Linked DNA regions of Homo sapiens: regions 1, 2, 3, 4, 5 and 6 are each linked to region 7. The links are contacts of gene promoters, found by promoter capture Hi-C in blood cells and fetal thymus (Javierre and others, 2016). All regions are on one chromosome and are shown on one strand. Each heading gives the region's core, a stretch centred on a gene start or on the middle of the fragment in contact. The rest is flanking DNA. Distances are from core to core; before and after follow the strand shown.

Region 1 (3,083 bases), core at 407-2,906, 340 kb before region 7:
CCTTTCGTGTCAAGCCTGCTGCTTATTTTTCAGTCTTTAAGTACCCGGAAGGGGGCGGTCAGAGAGAGCGACAGCAGAAATACGCTGTTCATACATAAAGAAGGTGAGGTGCTAGTCTCTGTTTTCACTGTTTCAAAAAGATCTTGGTGGAAAGGCCGTCCACGGTGCAGAAGTGGAATTTTACAGAGGGGAAGAGGGTGGCTTATGACTTATTTGTTATTGGGATGACAGCCAAGGGTCATAAAATTGTGGAAATCATCACTGGCTGCCTCTGATGACAGATGCCCAGGATCAGACAGGAGGCCTACATGGCTGGAAACACCCTGCACCACAGCCGGCTGCCTCAGACTCCGGCCTGGCCTGGTGTGGCCCCTGCTGCCCCTTTATGAAGTCAACAGCCGCTATTCCAATGACTGGACCCAACGCTCAGTGCAGACGTGTTACCTTTGTTCTGTAGCAGAGGCCACTTTGCTTCAGGCAGCAAAATGCTCCAACAAGATATAGTTAAAGTCTTTAACAGTAATACTTTTTTAAATCCCTGAAATACCTTCATAAGGAATAAGACACTGCTGGTGGTTTTGTAGCTTAATCTTAAAATAATCTTATGGCAACACACTTATTTCCAAACATTTCTCCTTGAGAGTATTTCTCTGGAACAAACCTTCCCTATTAGTTTAGCTTTCAGAGAGTTGAGCCCACAACGTATTACTTCTCTATTTATTCAGATCCTAAAGTGAGGGACAATAAAGTGGGGGTGCAGAGGGGGACTCAATGTTTTTTTCCACTTGAAAGTAAAAGCTAAATGTCTCCTCTCATTTCTTTCTGTATTGACCTCTGGACTAGTCAAGGCTACTTCCCGCCTCATTTGTCAATATCCTTTTCAGGAAAAACAGAGGCTTAATGCACATTGTCAGTTTGATCCAATGGCAAAATCTCAACTGCTTTTTAAGTTATCTCTGCACTTCCTAGTTGGCTCTTGAAAGAGAAGGCGGATTTTACTCCTTCTAGGTGAGAGACCAGGGGGACTACTGGACTTGGGAGGGCAAGTTTCGAGCCCATGGGGAGCAGTAAGAGGAACCCAGGAGGTCACGGTAGGATAAATCTGCCATAACCACACCTGCTCCTACAGGAATGACCTGACCCAGACTTTTCCACAAAAGCCTTAGTGGCCTCCCAAGATAAAACCTGTCAAAATGGCCACATTTTCATTCACTAAAGGACAGGGAGTCACCATAACCTAGAACTAAAGCTTTTAACAAGTAGCATGCCTATTACCATACCACTCTGTCTCATAAACAGGCTGAAGTCATAAACACTGAATCTCAGATATGCATGGGGTTCTTACATGCTTGTTAATTACACAGACACGAGTTCATGTGGTTGCTACAGAAGTGATAAGTAAAAAGCACTGAAGAACAAATTTATTAAAATTTAAAACAACTTCTATTACACAACTATATATAATAAACTCTTCATTGCATATGACAAATGAAAAATAGCACCTATAAAACTGACATTAAAATATATGCTATAGTTAGAAGAATTAAAGTCCACTATTTGTAAGACATTATTCCTTATTACCATAAAGCTGACAAAGTCTCTCATGCCGAAACAAATCCAGGTTACCCAGACTTAGGGTGCACTTTGATATGCTAAAGGCAATGAGGGTTCTGACCCTTCTTTTAGTTACTTTATTGAAATTCTCATTTTGCATTTATAAAAAGCATGTATGCAAGTCTGCATTTCAAAATACTATTTTTAAAACATCTGCCTTCTAGCCTTAATTATAGATGCCATTTATGTCTATAAAATGCTAGACTTGACTTCATCTGCTATTCCTCAGGATTCTTAAAACACTTATGAGTCTCCAGGTTTTAAAATCTTGAGTACTAAGTACACAGCAGGCTCCAGGACAGATGTTTTATGGACAGGGTAAGCATACGTCCTACTGCCGGTTGGACGTATGCTTACCCTGTTAGGCCAATTCAATTATTCAGAGCACCCTCCCTACTTTCATTCTCACAAAGGTCCTACTTTGAAAACTGGGAAGTCATGTGATGGGTTTAAGCTTCTGTGATAAGTGAAAAAAATCAGACCCTGACCCCAGAAGTTCAAACCTAGATCTAAATTCTTTTTTTTTTTTGGGACAGGATCTCACTCTCTGTTGCCCAGGTTGGAGTGCAGTGGTGCAATCATAGCTCATTGCAGCCTCGAACTCCTGGGCTCACATGATTCTCCTGCCTCAGCTTCCCAAGTAGCTAGGACTATAGGAGCATAACACCATGCCCGGCTTCAAACCTATGTAATTCTATGCACCTTTTGGTTTCTCTTTGTCTTAATGGTTTAATGAGAAATTCATTGGTCTGGGGCTACAAATAATGTAATAATAAGAATATCTAAAAATCTTCATGATTTCTTGAAGTCTTAACTCACACAGTTACGGTTTTTTTCTTTCTTCTTTTTTTTTTTTTTTTGAGACAGAGTTTCACTCTTGTCACCCAGGCTGGAGTGCAATGCTGCAATCTTGGCTCACCACAACCTCTGCCTCTCGAGTTCAAGCGAATCTCCTGCCTCAGCCTCCCAAGTAGCTGGGATTATAGACGTGCGCCACCACGCCCAGCTAATATTTGTATTTTTAGTAGAGATGGGGTTTCAGCATGTTGGCCAGGCTGGTCTCGAACTCTTGACCTCAGGTGATCCACCTGCCTCGGCTTCCCAAAGTGCTGGGATTACAGGCGTGAGCCACTGCACCCAGCCAACTCACACAGTTTTTTAAAAAATGACATTTGTTAAGGGACTGGCTCATTTAGCATATTTTCCCCCCACTATTTACTTAGTTTCTTCATAACTTTATATTTCACAATTAGATGAACTGAAAAGTTGCTTCATATCTGAGTAACATTTCCTTTCCATTTCACCACCCCTAAATAAATTATCTACTGGAAGATCAGACTACAAGGATGAGTGAGGGTTCAACTACAATAAAAAAAAATAAATTGAATTCAATTTCACTGAATTCTAGCAAAGCTCAAGCCCTGATTCCCAGGGAGGTGATCTCTAAAATAGTGGCACCAATTTTATCG
Region 2 (2,761 bases), core at 77-2,576, 300 kb after region 7:
TTTTTTTTTTTTTTTTTTTTTTTTGAGACAGAGTCTCACTCTGTCATCCAGGCTGGAATGCAATGATGTGATCTTGGCTCACTGCAGCCTCTGTCTCCTAGGTTCGAGCAATTCTCCTGCCGTAGCCTCCCGAGTAGCTGGGACTACAGGCCTGCCAATTTTTGTTTTTTTAGAGATGGGTTCTTGCTATGTTGGCCAGTTTGGTCTTGAAGTATTGGCCTCAAGCAATTCTCCCCACTCCCAAAGTGCTAGGATTATAGGCGTCAGACACCACGCCCAGCCAAGTTTTAGAGATAAGTCAATTTATTAGAAACACCTGGTCCTAACTGAATTTGCCTGGCTAATTTTTGTATTTTCAGTAGAGATGGGGTTCTGCCATGTTGGCCAGGCTGGTCTCAAACTCCTGACCTCAGGTGATCTGCCCTCCTTGGCCTCCCAAAGTACTGGGATTACAGGCGTGAGCCACCGTGCCCCACCAGAATCAATACATTCTGTTTTGCTGCAGAAAGCAAAATGCCCATAAGTTACAGAAGGAAGTGCAGCTCAAGATAAAAAAAAAACCATGACCATTGATTTTTCATGGCATTGATCCTTTATGTCCTAAATCTAGTCCTATAGATGACTCCATAGATGAGGAAACTAAACACCAAAAAAAGGTTAAATTCTACTTCGCAACCAAGTTTAACACAGCTAGTTAGACTACACTGCCTCTTAAACTGGTCCCTGAAAGAAATGAGTGGCTCGAAGAGAAGCGAGCACCCTGTCACCAGCTCCAGCCAAAGCCCCGTGCCTCTACATGGGGATTTTATACAGAAAATACCCAAGGTGAGGAGGTAGACTAAATGAATGACCAAAGAACTGTTCCAACTGTTTCTCTGTTTCCTCTTTGAAGAAAAGATACTCTTAATAATTAACCAAATAGGCTGGGCGCAGTGGCTCACACCTGTAATCCCAGCACTTTGGAAGGCCGAGGTGGGCGGATCATTTGAGGTCAGGAGTTTGAGACCAGTCTGACCAACACGGTGAAACCCCATCTCTACTAAAAATACAAAAAAAATTAGCAGGGCATGGTGGCACATGTCTGCAGTCCCAGCTACTCAGGAGGCTGAAGCAGCAGAATTGCTTGAACCCAGGGGGCAGAGGTTGCAGTGAGCCAAGATTGTGCCACTGCACTCCAGCCTGGGCAACACAGCAAGACTCCATCTCAAATAAAAAAAAAAATAGGCCAGGCATGGTAGCTAACGCCTGTAATCCCAGCACTTTGGAAGGCAGCGGTAAGTGGATCAACTGAGGACAGGAGTTTGAGACCAGCCTGGCCAACACGATGAAACCCCATCTCTACTAAAAATACAAACATTAGCTGGGCATGATGGTGTGCACCTGTAATCCCAGCTACCCAGGAAGCTGAGGCAGGAGAATCACTGGAACTAGGAGGCGGAGGTTGCAGTGAGCTGAGATAGCACCATTGCACTCCAGCCTGGGCAAGAGAGCAAGACTCCGTCTCAAAAAATAATAATACAATAAAATTAAATAAATAAATAAAAATAACTAACCAAATAAACATTTAGAAACTACTTCAGAACTTTTACCCAGTATTTCACATTGCCTGGACATTGAGAATTAAAAGGCGTTTTTAATAAGGCACACTTAAAGACAGAAATAAGGCATACTTAAAGACAGCATCTTATATGCTGGGGAGAAAAGGAAGGCTCCTCTCACAGTCCACGTTCCAGCTGCTGCCACCATCAGCTCCAGAACTCTAATGTGGCATCCACCACAGCTGTTCCTACAGCCAGACAGAGACGCCAGCTGCCTATCCTGACGCTGAATTACTCCTCGCCACCGTGGAATGTCTCCCAGGGTGCTACCTCTCCAGGATCCCACCTTCCTTTTTTTTTTTTTTTTTGAGATGGAGTCTCATTTTGTCATCCAGGCTGGAGTGCAGTGACGCAATCTCGGCTCACTGCAACCTCCTCCTCCCGGGTTCAAGCAATTCTTCTGCCTCAGCCTCCCAAGTAGCTGGGACTACAGGCACCCACATCTGGCTAATTTTTGTATTTTTATTGGAAATGGGGTTTCTTCATGCTGGCCAGGATGGTCTCAAACTCCTGACCCCAAGTTATCCACCTGCCTCGGTCTCCCAAAGTGCTAGGATTACAGGCGTGGGCCACCGCGCCCAGCCCCACCTTTCTTACCACTCCACCCCCGCTACCTGGCCCATTCCTCACCCACCTCTGAGGACTGGAAGCCCTAGGGCTCAGGTTTCACACCTCTTCCCCGCCCTCGCCTGTTCTCTTGATCAATTCACGCAGCCTCACAGTTTTGATCTATAAATCATCTAAAGGCCAAGGACTCCGAGCGCAGTGGCTCACGCCTGTAATCCCAGCACTTTGGGAGGCCGAGGCAAGCGGATCGTCTGAGGTTGGGTGTTCCAGATCAGCCTGACCAACATGGAGAAACTCGGTCTCTACTAAAAAAACACAAAATTAGCCGGGCGTGGTGGCGCATGCCTGCAATCCCAGCTACTCAGGAGGCTGAGGCAGGAGAATTGCTTGAACCCGAGAGGTGGAGGTTGTGGTGAGCCAAGATTGTGCCATTGCACTCCAGCCTGGGCGACAAGTGCAAAACTCTGTCTCAAAAATAAAAAATTAAAAACATAATAATAATAATAAAGGCCAAGGACTCCAAAAACATGTATCTTCAGACTGAACCTACACCTTGAACTCCACACTCAATGACCAAGTGTCTGCTCTTCATCATC
Region 3 (2,907 bases), core at 229-2,728, 400 kb before region 7:
TGGTGGTATGCTGGCATGCTGACACTGGGTAGGGGTGGGGTGGGGTGGGGTTGATCTATTGCCAATTTCCTTGGTATAAATACTGCTTCCATGGCCCATTTCAAGCAAACAACATTTTAACTACTAGCCCTTAAAAATCCTCATTATTTAACAACCAGCTCCTGCAAGCTGGTATGAACTGGCTCCAGCACACCACTGGATAATACTTAACACACTAGAAACCCTGGAGAACAATCCGACACCCAATATAAGCGTCTCTTCTACAGAATCCCTGACAGCTGTACACCAAACCTGTTTTGCTCTCCACTGGTGAGCTGCTCATGAAGTCTAACATCTGCCTAGCTTAGAATGCCCTAAGTATGCCCACTGGAGAAGTGCAGGATAAGTCTACCCATCTGTGGTGTCTTCAACATGGCAACCTTTTACATACTTGAAGACAGTGGTCATGAACCTTGGGGTCTTCTCCTTTCTTCTCCATGCTGAAACATATCCCCAGATCCTTCTACTACCCTTCACATCAAAAGTATAACAGCCCACCCACAATACAATGAACATAAAAATGTCCCAAATGTAACATAACACAATGGGGCCATTATCTCCCTTGTGCTAATCAGAGTAAGAATTGTCTTGCATCACACATAAAATACACTAACACTAATGATAGCTGATTAGTTAAAAAAAAATCACACACACAAAAAAATCTCATATGTTTTAAGGAAGTTTAGGAATTTGTGTTGAGCCACATTCAAAGCTGTCCTGGGCTGCATGCAGCCTGCAGGCTGGACAAGCTTGCTCTAAATACTATGCTTTTCTTACTCTCCTAAGATTGCATTAACCCTTTTGACAGCCACCTGATACTAACCATTCATCCTTACATAACTATCTCCCCCAAAGCCTTTCCCTCCTCCCAGAGTCTTTTAATATTATTTCAGGTTTTTCACATTAATTGATTATTAAAATACACTTGCTAAGACTACATTATTCTCACCAACTGTTATATGTTTAGCTTGGCTTCTGACCTCTACTGAGATCTTCTTTATTCTTCCAAAGGGTGTTACCCACAAACGTGCTAAAAAGCCTTTTATGTCTTCATTCAATTCACTCACATAGATTTTTGCAGCATCTACAAGGGACCTCGCCCTCTTTAATCCATGCTCTTTGAGTATAGTCCTTAGCTAACATCCAGCCAGCGGCACCACTCTCCAATCTATGTTTCTCCATCTTGCTCACAGAATTTCACACACTTGTCAAGTGCCTAGTTGAAATTTAGAATGTACTTTTAGCAGGAAAGCACTGTATAAAGGTAAGGATTTGTCTGTTATTTCCCTGCCAGAACTCTCTGAGAATGTTATGAAGAAAATAAATGGGATTCATTTGGCATGCCTTTTTCCTCAGTGAGGTCACATGGGTACCCTGTGGTCTTTCTATCGTTGCTTATAAACCACTTGCCAAAGAAATCCTGTAAGAAATTTCCTTGGGAATCAATCACATTCAGGTTGAGTTTACCACTCGGGCCATATACCAGGGGTGTACAAGCCTGTCCCTAGCTGTCTCTCCTGTGTACGACTGCCAGGCGAAGTTTCCTAAAACACCACTTTTTTTTTTTTTTTTTTTTGAGACGGAGTCTCGCTCTGTCACCCAGGCTGGAGCACAGTGGCGTGATCTCGGCTCACTGCAACCTCCACCTCCTGGGTTCAAGCGTTACTCCTACCTCAGCCTTCAAAGTAGCTGGGATTACAGGTGCACGCCACCACACCCAGCTAATCTTTGTATTTTTAGTAAAGATGGGGTTTCACATGCTGGCCAGGCTGGTCTCGAACTCCTGACCTCAAGTGATTTGCCTGCCTCGGCCTCCCAAAGTGCTGGGATTACAGGCATGAGCCATCGTGCCTGGCCTAAAATGCCACTTTCTTCATGTTGCCCTGCTGTTCAGACATTCCTGACACTATCCAAGTCCTGTCTCTGACTATCAGGGCTCTCCATCATCAGACCCCACCTTCCCACTGGCCACCATGGCCTCTGACTGGGTTTCAGGCCAGCTCCTTTCTGTCCATGACCTTCGACACTAATTCCTGCTCACACTTCCCTCAGCCCAGGAACTCTCCCTGCATCCTGCCCTTCTCATGCCCACTGGCCTTTCAGAGTGCACTTCAAGTCCCCTCCACCATGAAGCTTCTCCTCCCAGTTCTGGTCTCCACTGACCTTCACCTTCTTTATACGACATTCATTCAAATGCTTACAGCCATGGATTCACAGAAGCCTTACTTGGAAGGCTGGACTGGAGATCACCTAATTCAGCTTTCTTCCTAACTAGGAAGCGGGTTTACAGCTCAGGGGCAGCAGTGCAATGCAGCTGGAGAGTCACAGGGGCCCTGAATGCTGGCTCTGCCACTGATGAGCTGGAGGCCTCGTGGGCTTCCTCCACTGTCCTGACGTTCGGATATGACACTATACTGAAAATCCTTCAGAAACAAAAAAGAGCACCTCAGCTGTGTCTACTGGTATTTTACTGGTATTCTATGCCAAACCATATGTAACCATAAAGGTAACTGGTGGGAAGGAGGGGCTCCAGGCAGGGCAGACCTGAAACAAAGCTATTCATCTACGTTAGGGATCCCAACCCAACGGCAACTGTAAATAGCTTTGGGTAAAACAGGCTTTTGAGACATTAGAAACAAACAAACAAAATGTAAAAGTTAAATTCAATTAGACTCTGGGGTAAAATTTAACCTTGAGACTTTAGCACTCTCCACAGTGCTGACCTTTGAAGCTGGAGACAGACTGAGCAAGGAGAAGGAACTAGCCAGGAACTTCCTCAATTCTATCTCCTGCTTTCCCGAAGCCCACCCATAATGCCGGCCCACGAGTCTTCCTTCACCAGCTCTCAGAAATATTCTTGTCCTCGAC
Region 4 (3,186 bases), core at 468-2,967, 300 kb before region 7:
ACCAAGATGTTTCCTTTGAATGTGTTAAGGATGAGATATCCAAAGAGAGAGGTCCAGTAGCTTGATGGCTTTATGACTCTGGAGCTGAAAAAAGAAGTCTAGGTAAAGATACAACTTTAGGAGTCCCTAACAGATAGAGGGAGCATTGAAAACCTGGGAATGATATGTCACCTGGCGAGAGGGGTAGAATGACAGCAGGGCCCAGGCCTGAGAGCAGCACCCAGACAAACAGGTGGGTTAACTCAATTTTTCATCTTGGTGGTTTGATTTGTTTAATATAAAAGTATTATACTTTAGGCTTGGTGTGGTGGCTCACGCCTGTAATCCCAGCACTTTGGGAGGCTGAGGCAGGTGGATCACCTGAAGTCAGGAATTTGAGACCAGCCTGGCCAACATGGTGAAAGGCTGTCTCTACTAAAAATACAAAAATTAGCCGGGCATGGTGGCGGGTGCTTGTAATCCCAGCTAATCAGGAAGTTGAGGCAGGAGAATCTCTTGAACCCAGGAGGCAGAGGTTGCAGTGAGCTGAGATCATGCCACTACACTCCAGTCTAGATGACAGAGCGAGACTCTGTCTCAAAAAAAAAAAAAATTAAACTTTGGCAAGGAAATTAACCTGGTGATGTATCTAGAACCCAACAGATGTTCAAATCCCTTGACCTAGTATATCTACTTTGGAGGACCTATCCTAACATCTAGACAAACCTCAATGTTACATAGAATTACACTGAGGAATAACTCATGATAGTAAATAACCTTAACATTTGGGGAATGTTTATGCTGACAAGACTAATAATATTTTCCTCTGTGAGTTCATCTACAGCTTCTAATCTTAGAAATTTCAACTCCTCCAGAGGTTTAATAAATATCCACTTCCATTTCCTTCAAGCTTTTGTAAAAAGCTTTGTAAAAAAGTGGAACGTTTGTCTTTATCTGCTAAAACGCAAGCTGCTTCAGGGCAGGAATTTTATCTGTTTTGCTCAATGCTGTACACTTGGCACCTAGGAGAGTCCCCAGAACACTGAATGTATTTTGAACATATTTTTGTCAAACCTCACATTTTAATCAGGCAGAATTTACATTGGTGTAATGATGTGAGGTGATGATACCCACTGAGATTTTTCAGATTGCTCTCATATAGTCCCATTCCCATTCAGGTAATCAGCCTTCCTTTCCCCATGGCCTCACAGCACCTCCTCCATCTTCTGTTAAATGCTCACAGACTATGGAACCTGAAATCTGCCTCCCCCCTTCTGCCCCATGGATGGGTCTGTCAAATTTTGTCCCAGATTTGAAGCATTATGGTTTGACACTGGATAGAGCTAACCCCTTCACCACTCTTATGGTCCATGCCTAACCTATGTCCTACCACCTTATCTTTCAAGAAAAGCAACAGAAATTGGTCTCTCAAGTTTTAAAATACTTATCCAGATTTTGATGAAAACAAAGACCATTGATACTTGGAGAAGAACCAATGTATTTACAAGTTGCCCTCTCTCATCTAGGAGGGATGAGGAAGAGTCTCTACTGTGCAGCTGGTGGTCAGGAGTCAGCTCTGGACTCAGACTGCCTGGAGTCGATCCCATCTCTGCACTCAGGAGCTGCCTCACCTGCCTGTGCCTCTGTGTAACACTGTGGAAGTGGAACCTCTTTTGAGTGTTACTACAGGGATTCAATGAATTCACACATGTAAAATCTTAGTGCAGAACTGGCAATAGCAAGTGTGCGGTATTAGCTGTTATGATCATCTTCCCATAACATGTTTTTCCTTAGAGGTCTCAGTAAGAGTATTCCTGAATATTTGATATGTTTTGCTCTCAAAGGGGACTCATGGCTTGGCTGCCCTCTACCACATTCCTACATGCCAGCCACAGGTCCAAGTGCTGTACATTCACCACCTCACTTGACCCTGTTTGATGAACAGGACAAATGGAACAAGAGTGTCACAGAAATCTGTGTTAGCACCTTCGGTCTCCAGCTTGATTGCCTCTTTTCCAAGGAGGATCCCAGATCCTTCTTACCGGAGTCAGTCTTGCACATGGCATGGATCACTCTAACTTACCTGCAAGAAGCAGGGTGGCCTGCCAGTGAAGATAAGGGCATGCGCTGGCGACAAGTGGACTGAGGTTCAAACTCTGGCTCTACCAATTACTTGTTATGAGTCCTTGCATACATTATTTCATATCTCTAAGCCTCAATTTCCTCTTCTGTAAATGGAGAAAATCATAGAGCTCTTAAATATTAGTTAATAATAGTGTATTACTATTGTGAGGATGATATTTGGCCCATTTTATTCTGGGGCCCCAAGACCAAACTGGATGAACTACACAGACCAGCTGGCTCTGAATGAACAAGAGAAAGTGGCTCCTGCACTTTGTGACCTTCCCTGAGAAGATGTGAAGGCAGGTGAGAGGAGAGGAAGTCGGAGGCTGGATCTGCATGTGCCTATGGCTTCTGGAAGTCACAGCCACAAAAGGCAGTAGAATTGCGAAGAATGCTAAGGCCAGGTCCCTGACTCTCTCACATCCAAGAAAAGCTTTCACCAAAACAACCACCATCTGATTCTAAATATTTCTGACTTTTTGTTCTGAATGTACTCTTCCAAAACAATGGTCCTCAACTGGAAATGCAAATGCTCAAGCCTACCACAGACCTACTGAATTAGAGACTCTGGGGGTGAAACCCAGCAATCTGTTGTAACAAGCCCTCCAGAGAACTGAAGGGCAAAAAGGTTGAAGAACCACTTCTTCCAGACAGTCCCTTACACAAATACACCCCAAAGAAGGTTCTGTGTGTACATCCACTTAGACCTTCACACCTACAAGTAAAACAAGGCAAATACACGCTCAAGGAACACACAGTCAAAGAATAAACAGGTAGGTAAGGGAGCCTGGCTCTGTGGGTAGACAAGTGGGAAAAAATAAATAGGTGGAAGCAGAGAGCAGAGACGCCATCAAAGAAGGATGGTAGGAGAGGCCATGGAAGTCAGTGGCTGAAACCCACAAAACATAACAGCTGTCAGAATTACCAGGTTCTCTGTCAGGTTTCACCAGCAGAAGGAACATACTGGTTACTGAACTACTTTGGCAAGCAACAGGAAATGGGTCAGTTTCATCAGCTTTGCTTTAGGAAGCAATCATATGTATGAGACCAAGGTTGAGGAGGAAAAGGAGAGCAGAGGATGCA
Region 5 (2,969 bases), core at 452-2,951, 290 kb after region 7:
ACAGTGCCCTTATCTCTATAAAAGATAAATTAGCCGGGCATGGTAGCACGTGCCTATATTCCCAGCTACTTGGGAGGCTGAGGTAGGAGGATGGCTTGAGCCCAGGAGGTTGAGGCTGTGGTGAACCGTATCGTGCTGCTTGAACCCAGGAGGCTGAGGCTACAGTGAGCTGTATTGTGCCACTGCACTCTAGCCTGGGCAACAGAGCAAGACCGTGTCTCAAAAACCAAAAAAACTGTGCCTTACAGTATATTGAGGCCAGTAGGTGGGCACAGTGGCTCACGCCTGTAATCCCAGCACTCTGGGAGGCCGAGGTGGGCAAATTGCCTGAGCTCAGGAGTTTGAGACCAGCCTGGGCAATACAGTGAAATGCCATCTCTACAAAAAATACAAAAAAATTAGCTGGGTGTGGTGGTGCATGACTGTAGCCCCAGGTACTTAGGGAGGATCGCTTGAGCCCAGGAGGTTGTGGCTCCAGTGAGCCAAGATCGTGCCACTCCAGCGTGGGCGACAGAGCAGTACCCCCATCTCCAAAAAAAAAAAAAAAGAAAAAAAAAAGTGGCTAGTAAATATTCACTAAAATAAAATTTAGCAGTTATGGTTTGCTAATAGGACACAATCTTTAAAAAGCAGGGATATGAATCTTTCAAGCAACAATGTCACATACAGCACCATTCTGAGTTGTAGGGGCTATTGGACATCTGGTGTGTCCTTATCAGATAGCAGGCAGCTGGACAATTTCAACTTCAGAGGATACAGAATATGGTGAGGTCTAACGGTGGCAACCTCACCTTTGGCTCTGGATTTAAGAATACGGGCAGCCAAGTTCAAATACAGTAATAGCAGATTGCCTAGCACAGACTGTGTGCTTTCACAAGCTCACGGCAGTTGAGTCTCACCACAATTCTAAATGTTAACATTATTGAAGGTTATTAAGATCTGGCACAGCCATGTAAGTAATACCCACTAAAATACATTCTGCTCCTCTGCCTTACTTCCTTGTTCATACTTATTACCTCCTTGTTGATACTTCTAGCTACAGCAAAAAAAAAAAAAACCACTATTAAAATCTTTGTTTATAATGAAACAACTGTAAAACATTCACAAAAATTAATCCCTGCTGTTACGTCTACCTCTATGATCTGACGACCTACACACTAAGGTGTATTTCCCCTTTATCCTCAGCAGATATGTTCCATGACCCCCGTGGATACCTGAAACCACAGACAGTACCAAACTCTATACATACTATGTTTTTTTCTATACATACATACCCACGATCAAGTTTAATTTATAAGTTGGGCACAGAAATTAACAATAACGACAAAATAGAAAATAATAACAATATACTGTAACATAAGTTATATGAATGGTCTCTCTGAAAATATCTTATTGTACGGTATTAAGAGTAACTGAAACTTCGAAAAGTGAAACCACAGATAAGTGGGGGACTGGTGTATTCTTCCTTATTAGGCTGGGGAAGGTGGGGAAGGTGGGAGGTAGATACAATGAACACGTTCATATTCTAACTTGGATCTCTGACATACAATTAGCTTTAGAGCTAAGATATCACTGAGAAAGCCGTATGAAAGGATTGCATTTAAAGAGATTCCCATGTGCTTCCCGAGACAAAAGAACTGATCCATCAACAAAGGACTAAGAAAAAAGAGTCCAATAAATCACAGCGCTGCCTTAGGCTAGGTCTTCCTTTCTATGGACCTCTTGTTTTTTCTTTTCTTTTCTTTTCTTTTTTTTTTTTTTTTGAGTTTGGCTGTTTACTAGTAGGACAGTTTAGGGAAAATGGCTGTAGAATAAGTAATAAAACTTTAAATGAGGCCAGATTTCACAACCCAGTAAAAGATCACTAGTGACTAACTCTTTATTATGGAAAAGATGTATCACCGGCATACCTATGATCCCTCCAACGTCGTACCAAATGGACAGCTTGTCGGCTTCCGCCTCCTTCCAGCCGAAGTTGTTACTCAGATAAAAGGGGAGCCAGAAGAAGAAGGAGTAATTCACTAACTTCAAGCAGGCGTAGGCCAGTGAGTACTACAAGAAAAGCATTCAACTATCAGCGAGGGACAAATAGCACAGCACGACTACCATTTTTAATGTCATTTAAAAGCAAAACAAAATAAAGGAAGTTAGGATGAACAGAACCTGATTTTACAGTTAAACATCTCTACAAACTCCCACATGCCTGACTTCAGCTAGTCTCCCTCTGCTCTTCATCCCTGTTAACTTCTAGACAGGCATGTACAGCAGGCCTTTGGAATAAAAAACACCTATGGCTACTTCTTAGCTGTGTCCAGTTTCTCCTCCTATCAGTTCTCTGGTAGAAGCAAGCCAGTGTTTTGAACCTATAAGGCAGAGCACATACCCATATTTCTTTATTCACACAAAGAGGAATGGTATTCATGCCACTAACCAGCGTTAACCATAGGCAAAGAAGTCCAGGAAGCATCACGGCCTTTACTGGGAGCAGCCAAACGGGGTTGGTTATTCTACTCCTTGCCAAGGCAACACTGTGAACAATGGACAGCAAAGGGACTACACTACAGTTCCACGGTCTAAGAAAAGCAGCAGCATGATAATTCCTTTCACACTAGTTTTCAAAAGCTCCACATTCCCTGGTCTGGTGGCAAAGAAGAGAGTCTCTCTGGCGAGTCAAAAATGAAAGAACATGTCATCATCGGCCTCGTGGCTCTCCCTTGAGGGGAAAAAAATGCTGCAGCTGCATGAAGATGGTGGTGGGGCTGAGACTCCTATATTCAACACATTACTACCAGGAAATCCTGACATTCAGCATCAAAGGAAAAAGGGGGGGGGGACAGAGGGGCTGACTTCAAAGGGTGTCTGGCTAGTATATTCTTTTCCCTGGAGCTGCCAGTTATTCCCTAGGTATCACTTGTTTTAAAACAGCTTCCCTGGCAGGCAACAGCCACCCCCTAGAGAGCCAAATCCCA
Region 6 (3,103 bases), core at 528-3,027, 260 kb after region 7:
ACCAAAAAGATATTCCAATGGCCAATAAGCACATGAAAAGATGCTCAGCATCATTATCATTAGAGAAATGCAAATCAAAACCACAATAACACACCACTTCAAATTATTAGGATTATTAAAATTTTTAAAAGATAAGCAATAACAAGCGTCAGTGAAAACACAGAGAACCTGGAAGCTTCACAGACTGCCGATGGGATTGTAAAATGATGCAGCCACTTTGGAAAACAGTTTGATGGTTCCTCAAAATGTTAAACATAGAATCACCATGCGATGCAGCAATGCCCCAAAACTAGGTATTTACCCAGGAGAATTTAAAACACGTTCACATCAAAACTTGTACATGAATGCTCACAGAAGCAATATTCAAAATAGCCAAAAAGGGGAAACACAAATGTCCATCAACCGATGAATGAATGAACAAAATGTGGCATATCCACACAACGCAATATTATCCAGCCATAAAAAGGAATGAAGAGGCTGGGTGCAGTGGCTCATACCTGTAATCCCAGCACTTTGGGAGGCCGAGGTGGGTGGATCACCTGAGGTCAGGAGGTCAAGACCAGCCTGCCCAACATGGTGAAACCCTGTCTCTACTAAAAACACAAAAATTAGCCAGGCGTTGTGGGGCGTGTGCCTGTATCCCCAGCTACTTGGGAGGCTGAGGCAGGAGAATCGCTTGAACCCGGCAGGCGGAGGTTGCAGTGAGCAGATATCATGCCACTGCACTCCAGCCTGGGTGATAGAGCAAGACTCTATCTCAAAAAAAAAAAAAAAAGTACTGAAGAACAGATACATGCTGCAACCTAAACAAGCATTTGGCTCAATTGTACCCACAAGAGTTTAATTTATGGAGGTAACCAAGTGACTACACAGAGGTCCATGCCACTGAAAGAAGGCTTTTATGACCTACAGCCCCTGACAGGAGGGGAAGCCAGGCCATGTAGGGCCACATGGGGAAGCACCGATTTTGGACAGGAGGCAGAAGGGTGAGGGAAAAGCCAGGGCCAGAGACTTTATTGTGTTTTCTGCAGGAAAGGCAAGACAGGTCAGGGTTAAACAGTTGAGGACTGACTGCGTAAATAATTTTGCCAGGTTTTAGAGCACAGGGGCTGTCGGCTAGTTGCCTGGTGCCTGTCGCTGGGTTGATTAAGGGCAGGGGAAGATTAGCTTGGTGTGAGAGTTTGATAAAGAAGACCGCTGATTCGTTTGCAAATGAAAGGTGTTCTCCTGGGCCAGGCCTGGGCTTATCTCTAAGAACTGGCTCACTCTGGGAGGGGCAGTGTCTCCCAGTCAGCCAGGCCATGAATGACAAGACATCAAGATTATAGAAAATAAGAAAATATAGTTAATCCAGTAGGCCCGTGATGAATGAATGCCAAATAGACAAATACAGAATCGAAGAAAACACAGAATCACCTTGAAAACATTATGTAAGTAGAAGCAGCCTGTCACAAAAGACATTCTTCCATTCATTGCATCTTTCCATTCATATGCCATGTTTAGAGGAGGAAAATCCATCCACACAAAATGGAAAGCAGTATTTTCCAGAAGCAGGGGAGTGGGGAGAGTGGAGTGGACTGCTAATGGGTGGAGGGTTCCTTTTTGGGGTGATGAAAATGTCCTAAAGTTAGATAGTGGTGATGGTCACATAACTCTGCGAATAAACTAAAAAAAAAAAAAATGAATTTTACATTGTAAAGGGGTGGAGTTTCGAGTATGTGAATTACATAAAATAAAGACAAACAACCCGATGTCCATCAACTGATGACTGGATGCAAAAAATGTGGTATATCCATACAATGGAAATATTTTATGCAATAAAAAGAAATGAAATACTGATACATGCTTCAACACAGATGAACCTTGAAACGATGATGCTATGTGAAAGAAGCTAGTCACTAAAGGCCACATGCTGTTCAATTTCATTTAGAAGAAATGTCTGAAATCTATAGACACAGAAGTGTGATGGATGCCAGGGGTTAGGGGCGTGGAGGAAATGGAGAGTGAGTGCTAATGGGTATGGAGTTTCTTGGGGGGATGATGAAAATATTCTACGATTGATTGTGGTGATTCACAGCTCTGTGAATGTCTCCAAAACCTTTGTGCACTTTAAATGGATGACTTGTACGGCATGTATAAATTATATCTCAATAAAGTTGTTTTAAAAAAAAGATGAGAGTTGTTTAATACTATTAATTGCAAACAGTACATCCATAGAAGAAAAGTGCAGCCTCTGCTTACTAACAGGTCTCTGGTCTGTCTCAGATTTTATAGCTAGAGATGAGGATTCGTGCAGGATCTCACACTTAATCCAGCAAGTAAGAGAGTCACTCTCGGTGTCTAAGCAGCGGAATAACACCGCAAAAGTCCCGTTAACAAGACTATTCTAAGAGTTGAGCAGAGGGCAGAGTGAAGCGAGGCAAGGCTGGGAGCAGGAGCACCAGCGATGAGGCTGTTATCAGTCACCCAGGCACAGGATGGTGGCTCGGAAACAAAAATGAAAGATGAACTGGAAAAGTGAGGAGGAGAAAGAATCAGCAACACCTGGAGGCTGACTACATGAAAAGAGAAAGATGTGCCAAAAATGATCCTTGCGGCTGAGAGCCTGGGGGAATTGAAAGACTGGGCTGCCCCGATAGTTAAGGAGAAACCAGAAAGCGTGAGAATCATGGCCCAGTTGAGGGCCCGTGGTCCAGGAATCAGAACGACTCCATGAATGAGAATCCAGACATGGCTCGATTCCTAAGGTTCCTCAAAATCATTTCAAGCAGCTTACTGAACAAAGACCACTAGGAAAGTTATACTATTTCCTATACGATACACTAGGCGGCAGGTTTGCAGGGACTGGAGAAAACTAGCTATATTAAATTGGGATATCCTAGTGATCTCCAGGGAACCTAAGACTGGAAAATGAGTAACAAATTGGGGCTAGGGCTAAATATTTGGTAGTCATTTGTAGATTTTAAGAAATATTAAAAAGTGAACTTTCTAAGGAAGCACTAGAGCAAGAACAGAGAAAATTAAACATTAAGTAATGTTCTACCTCCTGTTTACCAGGCACTGTACTAGGAGTTTTTTGTTTTTTTGTTTTTTTTTTTTTTTT
Region 7 (2,737 bases), core at 123-2,622:
ACTACCTTAGACTTCCTAAAACGCAAACCTGATGGTTGCTCTCTCCTGCCATTTTACCCGCCCCATCACCTCCAGGGTGAGGCCCAAATTCTTTAGCATAAACCTCAGCAATCCCTTCCACACATCCCACTGGCCACATGCTATGCACAGAACATGGACGCTAAGTGCTGGGGAGACAGCTGGAGCCTCTGCCCTCAGGGAGTTTCTATTCTACTGGCAGCTGGGTGCCATGAGGAAAATAAACAGTTCCCTGTGACCAAGAGTAAGGGGAGGAAAAATCCTCAAATGGGATGTGATCTTTAGGTTGAGGCCTGAAGGATTAACAAATAGGGCCAACCAAGAGCAAGAAGGGCATTCCAGGCAGAGCAAAGACTCCCAGAAATGCCCAGGCTCCCAGAAATGCCCGGGGGGGGGGGGGTGTTCCAGTCACAGAAGGGTCCTGGGTGGGCAGGGACCAGTGCCCCAGGACCTTGTGGGCGATGGCAGGGAGTCTGCATTTTCCAGTTTGTAAGCAGATTAATAGGGTTGAACTGGGTTTAAAGATCTCTACCAGCTGCTGGGCAGAGAAAACCTTCATTGTCTGGCCTCAAAGCTGGCAAGGGGCGACCCGCGGCGTCGTGGAGTTCCCCTAAGCCGCCGCCTCCCTCCCTCCCCACCCCACACGGCCACACCCGGGTGTTCCACCCGGCACTACCATGCTCTATGTAAATCACTCTCTCCCCCCAGGCGTCTAGAGGACCCCACTCGACCCTGAGTCCCTCGCACTGTGCCAGGTACTCCGCAGGTGCTCATTAAACGCTCGCTTTAGTGAATGACGGTGCGAGGTCAGGGCAGAGCCACCGAATTGTCTGCTCAAACTTCAAGTAGGACCCCCAAGCGGGCTGGAAGTGCGTGAGGGCGCGCAGGACCTCCGCCCGCCGTCGCTCCCGGCGCGGCGCCTTACCCGGCTCTCAGGAACTTGCAGGCGCCGTAGACCATGAACCTGCAGAGGTGGAGCTGCGCGCAGAGCCCCACGCAGCCCGGCTTGGAGCCCTGGTGCGCGCGACACAGGCGCAGCGGCGAGGCGGCCAGCACCACGCGCTCCGGGGCCGCGGCTGCGCCGCCCGCCCGCACCGCCACCACGAAGCGCCCACGCTGCCGCAGCAGCCGCTCCAGCGCGTCGGCGCTCAAGCCCATCCGCAAGCGGCGCCGCAGCTCGGGCAACTCCAGGGCGCCCCCGGCCGCGCACAGCACCTGGGTGACCTCACCGACGACGCCGGCCTGGGCCATGGCCGCTGGGCCTGCTCCCGTCGGACCGCGGGTGGCGCGACGCGGACGGCGGCGGACGCTGGCTGGCGGGCGGCTCTCGCAGGGTGGAGACGCCGGCGGGAAACGAAACCGAAAGCGGCCCCGGGCCGGCGAAAAACAGAACCTGTGCGCCCTCGCCACGCCCCCGGTCCGCAGCTGAGCGGCTGCGCCTTCCGCCTCAGGGCCCCCAGCTGTGAGGCCGCCGCCCGACGGAAGCTCGGGAGCTCTTGAGCTCGGGCGTTCGGCCCGGAGCGCGGGCTGTGGCTGTGGCGGCTCGCGGGGGTCAGTACCTAGTCCCTGAAAATGGCTTCCCTGGATGTTTGAGGGACCAGGAGCCCCTAATGCCGCGATGCTCAGCGCGCCTTCAGTCAGAGGGAGCCTCGAGGGCGGCGGCAGCGCTGGCGGAGCCGGCTGGACGCCGCCGGTTAAAGCCGCTCAGCGTCGCCCAGGCCAAGCCCGGGCTTCGTAGACGGCTCACAGAAACAGGGACAACTGACGGGAGCTCTCACCCCTCGAACAAGTGACAAAAGCGATCACTCCGCATAGAAGACGCACTTAATTAAAGGTTCCTTTCGCCTCGGTGCATCAATGAGTTCCTTCATTTAAACATAAAAGGGTATGTCCTTTAAAAGAGCAAATCCGTGAGCCGAGATTGCGCGACTGCACTCCAGCCTGGGCGACAGAGCGAGACTCCGTCTCAAAAAATAAAATAAAATAAAATAAAATCCGTTACTCCCAGCCCCTGCTAAGTAACGATTGAACAAATATTTTAGAAGACCCTTCAGAGCAAAGGACCCTCTCACACGCTGAGAGCAATGCGAGTTGTTAGAGCCCTTTGAGGAGGTAATCCAGGAATAGCTATTAAAATTGAAAACGCGTGTGACCTTTGACCCAGCAATCTTTCCTCTCGGAATCTTCCAGAAGTAAAAGGAACAGTAAATAAGTTATGTGTGAAAGTGTTACTGGGGGAACCCTACCTGGGAGGTAGGGTTACGTGGGAACAGTGTGGTTGATCTTTAAAGACTATTACGAAGGCTGTTTAACAAGCATGCGTTAGAGCTCCGTGTGCGGATGTAGAGGGGCAGACAGCCATGATGTGGTGGTAAACGAGAAAAGATGGCTGTACAGAAATGTCTAAATAATCAAGTTGAATGATCAAGAATTAATTTTTTTAAATGTCTGAATAACAAAAAGAGAAGCCTGTGTGTGTGTGTGTGGCAGGATATTTTTGAATAAGCACGGAGAAAGATGAAGAAACACACAAGGGTAGTTGAGAGGAGGCAGTAGGAGGTATTAGGAAAATGGAAAAGGGAAGATGAGAGGCAGAAGGATTGTGGGGGGAGAGTACTTACGGTATACGGTATAACATTCACTAAAAATGAATATAAAAATCTTAACTATAGGCCAGGCACAGTGGCTCACGCCTGTAATCCCAGCACTTTGGGAGGTC

Evidence for each region. The method cuts DNA at HindIII sites, captures the fragments that hold promoters and counts their contacts. A CHiCAGO score of 5 or more calls a contact.
Region 1: a contact is called between a fragment that was not itself captured here and the fragment with the promoter of PARP12 in region 7, in 1 of 17 cell types (neutrophils). The highest score is 5.2, in neutrophils.
Region 2: a fragment that was not itself captured here is called in contact with the fragment with the promoter of PARP12 in region 7 in 1 of 17 cell types (neutrophils); the score reaches 6.5 in neutrophils.
Region 3: a contact is called between a fragment that was not itself captured here and the fragment with the promoter of PARP12 in region 7, in 1 of 17 cell types (monocytes). The highest score is 5.5, in monocytes.
Region 4: a fragment that was not itself captured here is called in contact with the fragment with the promoter of PARP12 in region 7 in 1 of 17 cell types (monocytes); the score reaches 5.2 in monocytes.
Region 5: a contact is called between a fragment that was not itself captured here and the fragment with the promoter of PARP12 in region 7, in 5 of 17 cell types (neutrophils, erythroblasts, total CD4 T cells and 2 more). The highest score is 6.5, in neutrophils.
Region 6: a contact is called between a fragment that was not itself captured here and the fragment with the promoter of PARP12 in region 7, in 6 of 17 cell types (erythroblasts, M0 macrophages, monocytes and 3 more). The highest score is 10.2, in erythroblasts.

What each region holds. Positions count from the first base shown.
Region 1 is chr7:139,720,737-139,723,819 of GRCh38, forward strand. The region is part of intron 1 of HIPK2 (homeodomain interacting protein kinase 2); the gene reads right to left. Among named protein-coding and RNA genes, the nearest start is that of HIPK2, 56 kb to the right of the region's middle. RefSeq lists a silencer at 94-388. The HindIII fragment of the contact is 819 bases long and covers 1,248-2,066 here.
Region 2 is chr7:140,365,932-140,368,692 of GRCh38, forward strand. The region is part of intron 4 of SLC37A3 (solute carrier family 37 member 3); the gene reads right to left. Among named protein-coding and RNA genes, the nearest start is that of SLC37A3, 31 kb to the right of the region's middle. RefSeq lists enhancers at 1,818-2,319, 2,320-2,761. The HindIII fragment of the contact is 2,962 bases long and covers 1-2,761 here.
Region 3 is chr7:139,661,023-139,663,929 of GRCh38, forward strand. The region is part of intron 2 of HIPK2 (homeodomain interacting protein kinase 2); the gene reads right to left. Among named protein-coding and RNA genes, the nearest start is that of HIPK2, 120 kb to the right of the region's middle. The HindIII fragment of the contact is 1,384 bases long and covers 787-2,170 here.
Region 4 is chr7:139,764,558-139,767,743 of GRCh38, forward strand. All of the region lies in intron 1 of HIPK2 (homeodomain interacting protein kinase 2), which reads right to left. Among named protein-coding and RNA genes, the nearest start is that of HIPK2, 12 kb to the right of the region's middle. The HindIII fragment of the contact is 1,634 bases long and covers 901-2,534 here.
Region 5 is chr7:140,346,716-140,349,684 of GRCh38, forward strand. It overlaps SLC37A3 (solute carrier family 37 member 3), which reads right to left. Exons shown (of 15, transcript NM_207113.3): 10 at 1,911-2,052. Among named protein-coding and RNA genes, the nearest start is that of SLC37A3, 50 kb to the right of the region's middle. The HindIII fragment of the contact is 5,560 bases long and covers 1-2,969 here.
Region 6 is chr7:140,321,807-140,324,909 of GRCh38, forward strand. No RefSeq gene overlaps it. Among named protein-coding and RNA genes, the nearest start is that of SLC37A3, 75 kb to the right of the region's middle. The HindIII fragment of the contact is 3,208 bases long and covers 174-3,103 here.
Region 7 is chr7:140,061,579-140,064,315 of GRCh38, forward strand. It overlaps PARP12 (poly(ADP-ribose) polymerase family member 12), which reads right to left and starts at 1,373. Exons shown (of 12, transcript NM_022750.4): 1 at 944-1,373. The coding sequence starts at 1,269. RefSeq lists a silencer at 981-1,300 and an enhancer at 1,311-1,520. The HindIII fragment of the contact is 6,136 bases long and covers 1-2,737 here.